Regions from separate parts of the Homo sapiens genome. Here all the other regions are linked to region 3. The links are contacts of gene promoters, found by promoter capture Hi-C in human tissues and cell types (Jung and others, 2019). All regions are on one chromosome and are shown on one strand. The core of a region is centred on a gene start or on the middle of the fragment in contact, and the rest is flanking DNA. Distances in the headings are between cores, read along the strand shown. Region 1 overlaps GALNT18 (polypeptide N-acetylgalactosaminyltransferase 18). Region 2 holds the start of LOC124902633 (a long non-coding RNA gene). Region 3 holds the start of CSNK2A3 (casein kinase 2 alpha 3).

Region 1 (2,952 bases), core at 123-2,622, 33 kb before region 3:
AATAAGGCAAAAACAAAGAGGGGAAGTGGCCTGTCCTTTTAATATTATCCTGGGACATTAACGGGCCCATCCAAGAGTATGTAATTTTCCAAGAGAATGTACTCATGCTTGACTTTGCTATTTACCTTTTGATTCTCTCTCAGACACTATGAAGTTGTATGCTAACTCCTAGATTTCTGTCTGTGTAGAAAAGATCACATGAAAGGCTATAATTTTATTTCCCCATAGGACATGAACCACTTTTGCATTTAATCTCTCCATTTTATTTTGACGTTTTTCTTTAGAAAATGTCTACAGATACTCAGTTCCTCAAATGCACTCAGTACTTGCTTAACCGTCTTACTTAGAAAATGCCTACAGATACTCAGTTCCTCAAATGCACTCAGTACTTGCTTAACCGTCTTACAAAGTCAGCAAGATGAACGGGGCCAGCCTGCAGTCCTGCCTTCTTGCCCTTCTTACACCTTCACCATTCTTGGCCATTGCTGGCTGAAATCCAAGTCATGAAGCTCAAATGTTGCCCCATATGCAATGCTCAAGAGAGAAACAAGTTCAAATCTTGGCTGTGGTGAAGATTTGAAGATTAGAAAATAGAGAATAGTCTGTTGCTAGCACCAGAATATAGCTTCACAAGGACAGTCACTTTTTTTCTGGTTCATCCATTTCCCAGGGCCAAGAACAGTATCTGGCACATGAATGCTGTTCATAAAAAAGGAGCAATTTGGACACAGACACACACATGGAGAATGTCATGTGAAGGGTGGAGTTATGCTGCTACAAGCCGTTACCTTGATTTGGACAAGGTAATGAATTAAAAAGTCATAGAATTCCAGGGTGCAAGAGCCCTTAGGAATTTCTTAGCTTAAGAGCCTACATGGTATAAAAATCCTTCAGAATGTCCCTGGAGCCTGCCAAACATGGCTCAGTGCTGATGACGGAGATGTCAAAATAACCTGAGCCAATGATTGGGAAGAGTTTCCTCATGCTCAGCCAAAAATCTGCATCCTTATACTTTGGAAGGAGTTTTAACGTCCCCCTTAAATCTGTTCTCTTTTTAAGCTAAACAATTCCTACTCTATTAACTCAAGGACATGGTCTAGAGTGTCTTTACCAATCTGGTAATAGTAATAATAGCCAACATTTAGTAAGCGATGACTGTGTACCAGATTTTGTTCTCTAAACGCTTTATGTGCATTGATTTATTTAATCCTTATAACAACTCCACAAAGTTAGTACTACTATATTCTCTCTTATGCTGCTACAAGCCAAGGGACCACCAACCACCAGCCAATTTCATTACAGGCAATAAAATTGAGGCATGAGGAGACACTCACCTAAGAGACTCAGTTAGTAAGTGGCATGGCTGGGATTTGAACCCATATAGTCTGGTTCTTAATCACTATATATTGCCTCAGAAATTGTCTTTCAGCATTTTCAGGCTTCCTATCAAGTGTGATGCTTAGGGAGGAATATGTAAGTTTTCATAGAAGAGGTCAGAAATACCGTTACCCTGGCTTGGTCTATATTCCCTAGGCAACAATGTAAAGTGCCACCTCCATCTCCTGCAGTTGTACAGTGCACAACCTGCACAATGGCATGTGACAGTTCCATCCGTGCATACACGACCTTCCCAAAGCTCTCCTTGTCCTATGTGGCCATGGTAACAATAAAGATCTTGCTGAGAACTGCCAGTAGGAGGGGGTGACATCCCTGGAAATGCATGTTGAATGTTTGATTTGGACCAAGTCTGTAGGATTCAGAGGATCTTTGGGGTCCTCACCTGTCCACAGTCTCCTTCTGAGATGTACCCTGACTTCATTCTCAGGTAACACGTCCTAGAGTACCCCTTTTCTTACTCTTCCATGAGCAGTGAACTTCTTGCGGGCTGGAAGATGACTTTGGGAAGCCTTGCCAGACAGCAGCCCCTTACCTTTCACTCATCCCCTGCCCCTGCGTTCATCATGGGTGGATGTAGGAGCTCAGGCTGGGAATACCCAGCCCGTCCCCAGGATAACCTTGTCCTTTCCAGCTCTCCCAGCTCACTGGGCAGGCCACAGCCTCAACAGAGTCCTGCCACAGCAGCATCCCTACCCCTTCCTGGGAAATGTGTGTAATCTGAGGCTGGTCCCAAACCTCCCTACACAGCACTGCTAGTTGTGCATCTGAGCATGGCCTGGCGTGAAAGGTCACCAGGACACCAAGGGCTCCCTGTACAGCCCAGCTGCATGAGTGTTCTGTGGCTTTGGGGGATGAGGAAGGGAGACCCAACCCTTTGAGACTTGCTGCAGCTTCACATCAAGAAGCTTATTTACAAAGGCAGCTCCCAGCATTCCTGGCAAGCACAAATTCACAGTTTCCCACGCCAACTGAATTTCAAAACAAAGGAATTAGAGATAAGCAGATTGTCAGAGCTAGGAGTGTTGAGCCTAAAGAAGCCCAATCCAGCTTTATCATCTGCAGACAGAAATACAGGCTCAGATGAAACTCATCAATGGTGAGAGTGGTCAGAACCATCCTTACCTTTGGGTGGAGGTATGACCAAGAGGACAAATGAGGAAGCCTTCTGGAATGATGGGTTTGAACTTAATGGTGACTGTACAGTGTATACAAAGTTAAGAACTGTGCAGTTAAGATTCGTGTATTTTAGTATAAAATTCTACCTCAATAAAATAGTAAAACAAAATAAAGGCCCAGAGAAGATTAAGGTGATGTTGCAATTGTGTAGCAAGACAAACCCTTGAACTCAGGCATCCCAATGCCCACTTCACTGTCCTTTCCTAACTCCCTTACATTTTTGGTGCCATAGTAACTCAGTGATGCTCCAACAGTTTATGAGTAGGTTTTCTGTTTTGTTTTTTTGAGATGGAGTCTCACTCTGTCGCTCAGGCTGGAGGGCAGTGGCGCAGTCTCAGCTCACTGCAACCTCTGCCTCCCAGGTTCAAGTGATTCTCC
Region 2 (2,917 bases), core at 299-2,798, 56 kb before region 3:
CATGGAGAGAAAGCTGAGAGGAGGGCTTTGGGGTCATGGCAAGTGATGCTGAATAAACACCCCAAGTTCACTCTTTCCTCCCCACTTCAATCTCATGCTAGGTCAGGCCACTGGCAGAACCCAACTGGAAACCAGAGATTTCCATTGAAATGTTCCATAACGTCAGCCTCTCAGGGTGGAGGGAGGTGGGTGGAGAGTGTGTCTGGAGGGAGGAGCAGAAGACGCTCATTACAGCTAAGATCTGCTCTCTGTGGTCACTTTACAAGTTATCAAGCTTGGCAAATCCATGGTAATTGATATCAAAATGACTAAAATGACTGAGTTTTTCTATAACAAAGGTGAAGGATTCACTGTGACCAAAGTTCTGAGCAGAGGCCAAATGTGGGATGTCCAGCTTTGATGTGGAAATGTAACCAGAACAAGAGGCAAGGGGAGCCTCTTCAAAGCTATCCTGGGCAAGAGGTGGTTTGCTCATCAGAATCCTGAGACTGTCCATTGTGTGGCCTGGATTTCCAGGTCACCACCGAAGAAAGCTGATGTCCTGTGGCTTCTAGTTTATTGGAGTTGAGGGAGAACTTGGCAACTGGTAGGATGGAGAAAATTAAACAGCCATAGAGTTAGACATCACACCCATACCTCTATTCAACTAACAAGTAATCTCTAAGTTGGGATCTAGGACTACAGAAATGAGAAAAGCCATGGTCCCTGTCCTGGAGAAGCCATGCCGCATTAGGGAAACCAACAACATATCAGGAAACAATGACCCCAATCACATGAATATGAGAAGTGCCCCTGCTTCTTGTACTCACCTACCCCAACTCTTACTACTTTGAAAATAGAAACGAGAACCCACCATATCCAGAAAGACTGCCCTGAATATTCAACTGTGTGGAGCCTCAGCCTGCCACCTGGGCCTCTCACCAAAAGGTGCACACCTGTTTATACCCCTGGGTTGAATGCACTGTGACCTCCTTAGGACACTGTAGCTCTTAATCTCCCTGCATGCCAGGACCCAGATTTCCTGAGGTTTGGGGATGTGGGCTGTGAGACAAGGACAGCCAGGGAGCCAGTCATTCCCATGTTTTTCTTCTTCTGTCATCAAAGCCTGGTTCTTGTCTCTGGAGCAGACTTGGCAGACACAAGTGGCTACTCAGGTAACAGCTGAAATCAGTTTTATCCACTTAGCTGCTCTGAAGAGTTTAGGGAGATGCTGGGAGAGACGTGTGCACTTACTATCTGGTACAGCTGTCATCAGAGCTGTTTATTGCTCCAGAGTCTGGGAAAATCATAATGGGGCAGACGATTGTTATTTAAAAACAAAACAACAAAGTGCCTCTTGACTGGCGTAATCACAAGGCTGGCAGATCACAGAGGGAGGTTCGGCAAAGAGGATTTTCTCAAGTCCTCACATGGACATCTCAGAAGCCCAGCCTAGCGGATTAAATAAACAAATTGCTCGAACACAAAAAAGGTGTTCAAGATGCCCTACCTTCAGTGCCTGCAGTCCCAGCAAGCATAGCTAAGCTTTCTGAGCAATGGGGACTCTGGAACGTTTAAGGCAAAAAGTGACTTAGAACGATGGTCCTCAGTGGAGGAATGTTATAAACCAGGGGCTATCTGGAATGCCTGGAGACATTTTTGGTTGTCATGATGGTGGGGGTGGTAGGAGGTGTCTAGTGGCTGGTCTGGGATCCCACTCAACATCCTAAGTGCACAGGACAGCCCCCCACAGCAAAGAATTATCTAGCCAAAATGTCAGTAGTGCCGCTGTTGAGATACCCCAACTTAAGGTATAATAAAAGCTAACATGTTTTTACCTCTTACACTGTGCCAGACATGAAATGACTTACATGCTTTATCTTGTTTAATCTTAGCAATAACTCATGAGGCAGGTACTAATATTATCCCTTACCTTACAGACGAGAAAGCTGAGGCACGGAGACCATAAGCAATGTTTCCAAAGTCGCACGGTTGGTGAGTAGCTGAGATTTACAGCGAGGCAGTTTAACTCCAGAGCCATATGTGCGACCACTCACCTCCCTTGCCCACCTCCCTGGGGTCACTCCAGCTCCAGCCTCCAGGCTGGGAGGGGCAGGGGGAGCCGGGAGAGGACTTCCACTGTGATCCCTTCCAACCATGATGGGGGCCTGGACTAAGACAGTACCAGAGAGCTGGAGGAGCCTAGAATAAAAGATGCTACAAAGTTCTGAGACAGCAGCATCCCTCCTGTAACTCTGGTCTGAGGCTGGGGTGAGCTGTTATCCTGCCTGTGGACGTCTTACAAACCCCCGGGGCAGAGAAACGTCATCCCCGCCCACTCAGCTCCTCCTCAGCTGCCAATGATTGATTTGGCTCATTCTCTACTCAGCTCTACACAGCTCAGCAGGGCTGCAAACCAGATCTCCAGCATTTCATTTTGATTCTTGCAGGAGGAAGAGCAAAATCACCTGCAAGGTAAAACAATCAACACATCCGTATCCTGGATCTTACGCTAGTGGCATTTTCCTCTCCTCCAGGCCAGGGGTAGGAGCCATGACTGAGAGCTAACAGCTGGCCAGGGAGACCACAGAACTCTGGTTGCACATTCCTGCCTTTAGAGCCACAGAGTCGAGGCTGGGTAACGTCCCCCAGGGCCGGAGGTTCTCCTGACTCTGTCCCTCACCTTGGGGCAAGGGCCCCCATCCTGCAGGATACCCTGGTCTCAGAGCCTGGCCTCTAGCCCTCCAAAGAAGCCACCCCTCACATGTGTCAAGCCTCACCTGGCTGATGGAAACTCTGCCACAGCTTCAGGAAGGGAAGGAAGAGAAGAAAACACACATAGTTTTGTGCGCCTAGCAGTCCTCTGCTAGGTGTTTTCCATGCCCGTGGCTACTGCCACTTTTAAGGATAAGGAAACTGAGGCTATGAGAGTTTTAAA
Region 3 (2,935 bases), core at 69-2,568:
CAGATAGGGCCGTTACTGCTGAGCGCCAGTGGCAGCTGGAACAGGCATCCCAAGGGGGTTGGCAGCAGCAATCACTGGTGAGCCTGCCAGAGGTCCAAGGGGTGAAGGAGTTGGCACTGAAGAAATCCCTGACATCACATTGGCGCTGCTGACGGGCGTACTGCCCCCTGGCATGCTAGATGAACCCATTCGAGCCTGGTCCTTCACAACAGTGTAGAAATAGGGGTGCTCCATGGCCTCTCTTGCAGTAAGCCGTGACTGGTGGTCATATCGCAGCAGTTTGTCCAGGAAATCCAAGGCCTCAGGGCTGACAAGGTGCTGATTTTCACTGTGGACAAAGCGTTCCCATCGCTTTCGAGAGTGTCTGCCCAAGATATCATTGAAACGTGGATCTAATTCAATGTTGTATTTGTCAATATAGCCATATAAATCTTCTGTCCCCAGAAACTTGGCTATCCTCACCAACTGATCATAATTGTCACGTCCATGGAAAAATGGCTCCTTCCGAAAGATCATACTTGCCAGCATACAACCCAATCTCCACATATCCAAACTATAATCGTACATCTGATAGTCTACAAGTAGCTCAGGACCTTTGAAGTATCGGGAAGCAACTCGGACATTATATTCTTGGCCAGGATGATAAAACTCAGCCAAACCCCAGTCTATTAGTCGTAGCTTTCTGTGCTCATGATCAATCATGACATTATGGGGCTTGACATCTCTGTGCATAATTCCCATGCTGTGACAATAATCCAGGGCCTTCAGAATCTCATACATGTAAAATCGAATATCATAGTCTGTTAACGTCTGGTACAATTGCTTGAAGTCTGTGTTGTTTACGTGTTCAAAAACCAAGGCGGGGGTTCGTGACACAGGGTCTTTTACAATGTCTGCCAGTGTGATGATGTTGGGACCTCCTCTCAAATTCTCCAAAATCTTTATTTCACGCTTAATTTTCTTCTTTTTTACTGGCTTGAGAATTTTAACAACAACTTTTTCATTATTTGTGATGTTGATGGCTTCAAATACTTCACTGTATTTACCTCGGCCTAATTTTCGAACCAGCTGGTAGTCATCTTGATTTCCCCATTCCACCACATGTGACTCGTAATCCCAGTATTCTCGAGGTCTGTGTGTATTAACATCTGTGTAAACTCTGGCCCTGCTTGGCACGGGTCCCGACATGTCAGACAGGTTGGCGGACAAAGCTGGACTTGATGTTTGGAGATCTGGCAGTCACTGTGTTCAGAAGCAGCTTGGGGGTAAGACCTTGTTTCAGACCTGTTTTCTTCACACTGTGGTGGAAGCGGCAGCGGCTGTGGCCGCTCTCCCTTCTGCTCACACAGACAATATGGCGGCGATGGAGTGGGGAGCAATTTTCTAAAATCCAAATAAAAACCTTCCCATCTCTAATCTGAGAGTCATTTTTATCAGCTAACTGGGCTCATCTATTTACTCAGCATATTCAGAGCCCTTTTTGGGGGTTAAGTCCCTTTCAATTGCTGTGAGGCACCGTCTCCTTGTGGACATGCTTGTGCTATCCAGCTGCTATTCAAAGCACATCTCCTGGACCATGTTTAATTTATACTTTCCTATATGAAGATGAACCACTTACTCACTTAAAGTATTTCTTTTTTTATGTCTCTAATCAGTGGCTGTTTCTTTCCTCTCTCTGAAGCTTAATCGAATCAGAAACAAATCCCACACATATGAATGGCTCATTAGCATGTCCCAGTCAGATTCAAATTGGCCGTCCATACCAGATGCCCCCAAAAGGATAACACTGGCCCAAAGAAGGACTCTTTAAACGAGTGTCCAAAGGGTGTTGCCATGATAAGCCAGGAGGGTTCTTTCTGAAATCCAGGGTAGATACACTCTGTCATTCCCAGCACCATAGAGCCAACTGATGGCAGGTAATGGATGTGTCATTGAGATGGGGTTGGTGGGAGGCAATGTGGCCAAGCCTGGGGAGCAGACATCAGAGGAATGTCTGGTGTCTATGTGTCTGGCTCAAGCATCATCCTCACACTTGGCTCAGTGGGGCCCTTTTATCAAATGATACAAATGAGGCTGAGATGCTGAACATTCTCTCGCTCAGAAATGATATTTGTTCTAAAGAGCTTCCCCTCTTAATCAAATGAAACTCAGATTATAAACACTGGTATGCTACATCTTCTCTTAAAGGATTTGCTCTTTTCATAGACATCAGAATGAATCGTCAGCATGGGCATCATCACTGGTGTCATCTCTGAAAGTCACCGATAGCAAACTCTCATTTAATACAGATTTACAAAAGAGATCAGCATACTGCAATAGAGTAGAACTGAAGGGAACCTAACCAGGACCTCCCTTCATTTCCCAGGTGAGCAAACTAAGGTTCAGGGTCACAGGATAATTTAGAAGCACAGTAAGATATGGATCCAAGAGCCTGCCTTTTGGAAGACAGGAAGTCATTATGGTTCAGAGCATAGCCTCTGGGGCCAAACAGTCTTGGTGTCAAGTCCTACATTTCCCATTTGCTGAACTGGTGACTTTAGGCAATTCACTTCACCTTCCAACACTCAGTTTCCTTGTCTATGAAATGGAGATAAAAGTGATAAATTCCAAAGATAGTTGCTGTGAGAATTAAATGAAGTAATACACAGAGACAGTTTATTTCATCACCTGGAAGAAGTTTAGAGGCCCCTAAGTATCAGCTATAATTATTATCACTATAATATTCCACTGATGATAAGATTCACTATTGCTATACCACAGCTTTTCGGGACAGGGGAAAACACACTACATTCCTCTGAGCTCAAGATTTATATACCCAAGTGCCTACGTCTCACCTTCACTCTCATGTGTCTCAGGCATCTCAACCTTACCATGTCCAAAACGAAGTTCCCGATTTTCTTCCCTGCCTCCCCATCTGTCCCTTAGTCTGCCCCTC

What was found. The method cuts DNA at HindIII sites, captures the fragments that hold promoters and counts their contacts. A contact is called where the count stands out against the background at its distance.
Region 1: a fragment that was not itself captured here is called in contact with the fragment with the promoter of CSNK2A3 in region 3 in 4 of the 25 tissues and cell types used here (IMR-90 fibroblasts, hippocampus, mesendoderm cells and 1 more).
Region 2: a fragment that was not itself captured here is called in contact with the fragment with the promoter of CSNK2A3 in region 3 in 2 of the 25 tissues and cell types used here (liver and pancreas).

What each region holds. Positions count from the first base shown.
Region 1 is chr11:11,318,762-11,321,713 of GRCh38, forward strand. The region is part of intron 9 of GALNT18 (polypeptide N-acetylgalactosaminyltransferase 18); the gene reads right to left. Among named protein-coding and RNA genes, the nearest start is that of CSNK2A3, 33 kb to the right of the region's middle. The HindIII fragment of the contact is 7,313 bases long and covers 1-2,952 here.
Region 2 is chr11:11,295,458-11,298,374 of GRCh38, forward strand. The region is part of intron 9 of GALNT18 (polypeptide N-acetylgalactosaminyltransferase 18); the gene reads right to left. LOC124902633 (a long non-coding RNA gene) reads left to right here and starts at 1,923. Exons shown (of 3, transcript XR_007062596.1): 1 at 1,923-1,974; 2 at 2,430-2,454. The HindIII fragment of the contact is 5,230 bases long and covers 1-2,917 here.
Region 3 is chr11:11,351,932-11,354,866 of GRCh38, forward strand. CSNK2A3 (casein kinase 2 alpha 3) reads right to left here and starts at 1,319. Exons shown (of 1, transcript NM_001256686.2): 1 at 11-1,319. The coding sequence starts at 1,188. The coding sequence ends at 13. All of the region lies in intron 6 of GALNT18 (polypeptide N-acetylgalactosaminyltransferase 18), which reads right to left. The HindIII fragment of the contact is 7,765 bases long and covers 1-2,639 here.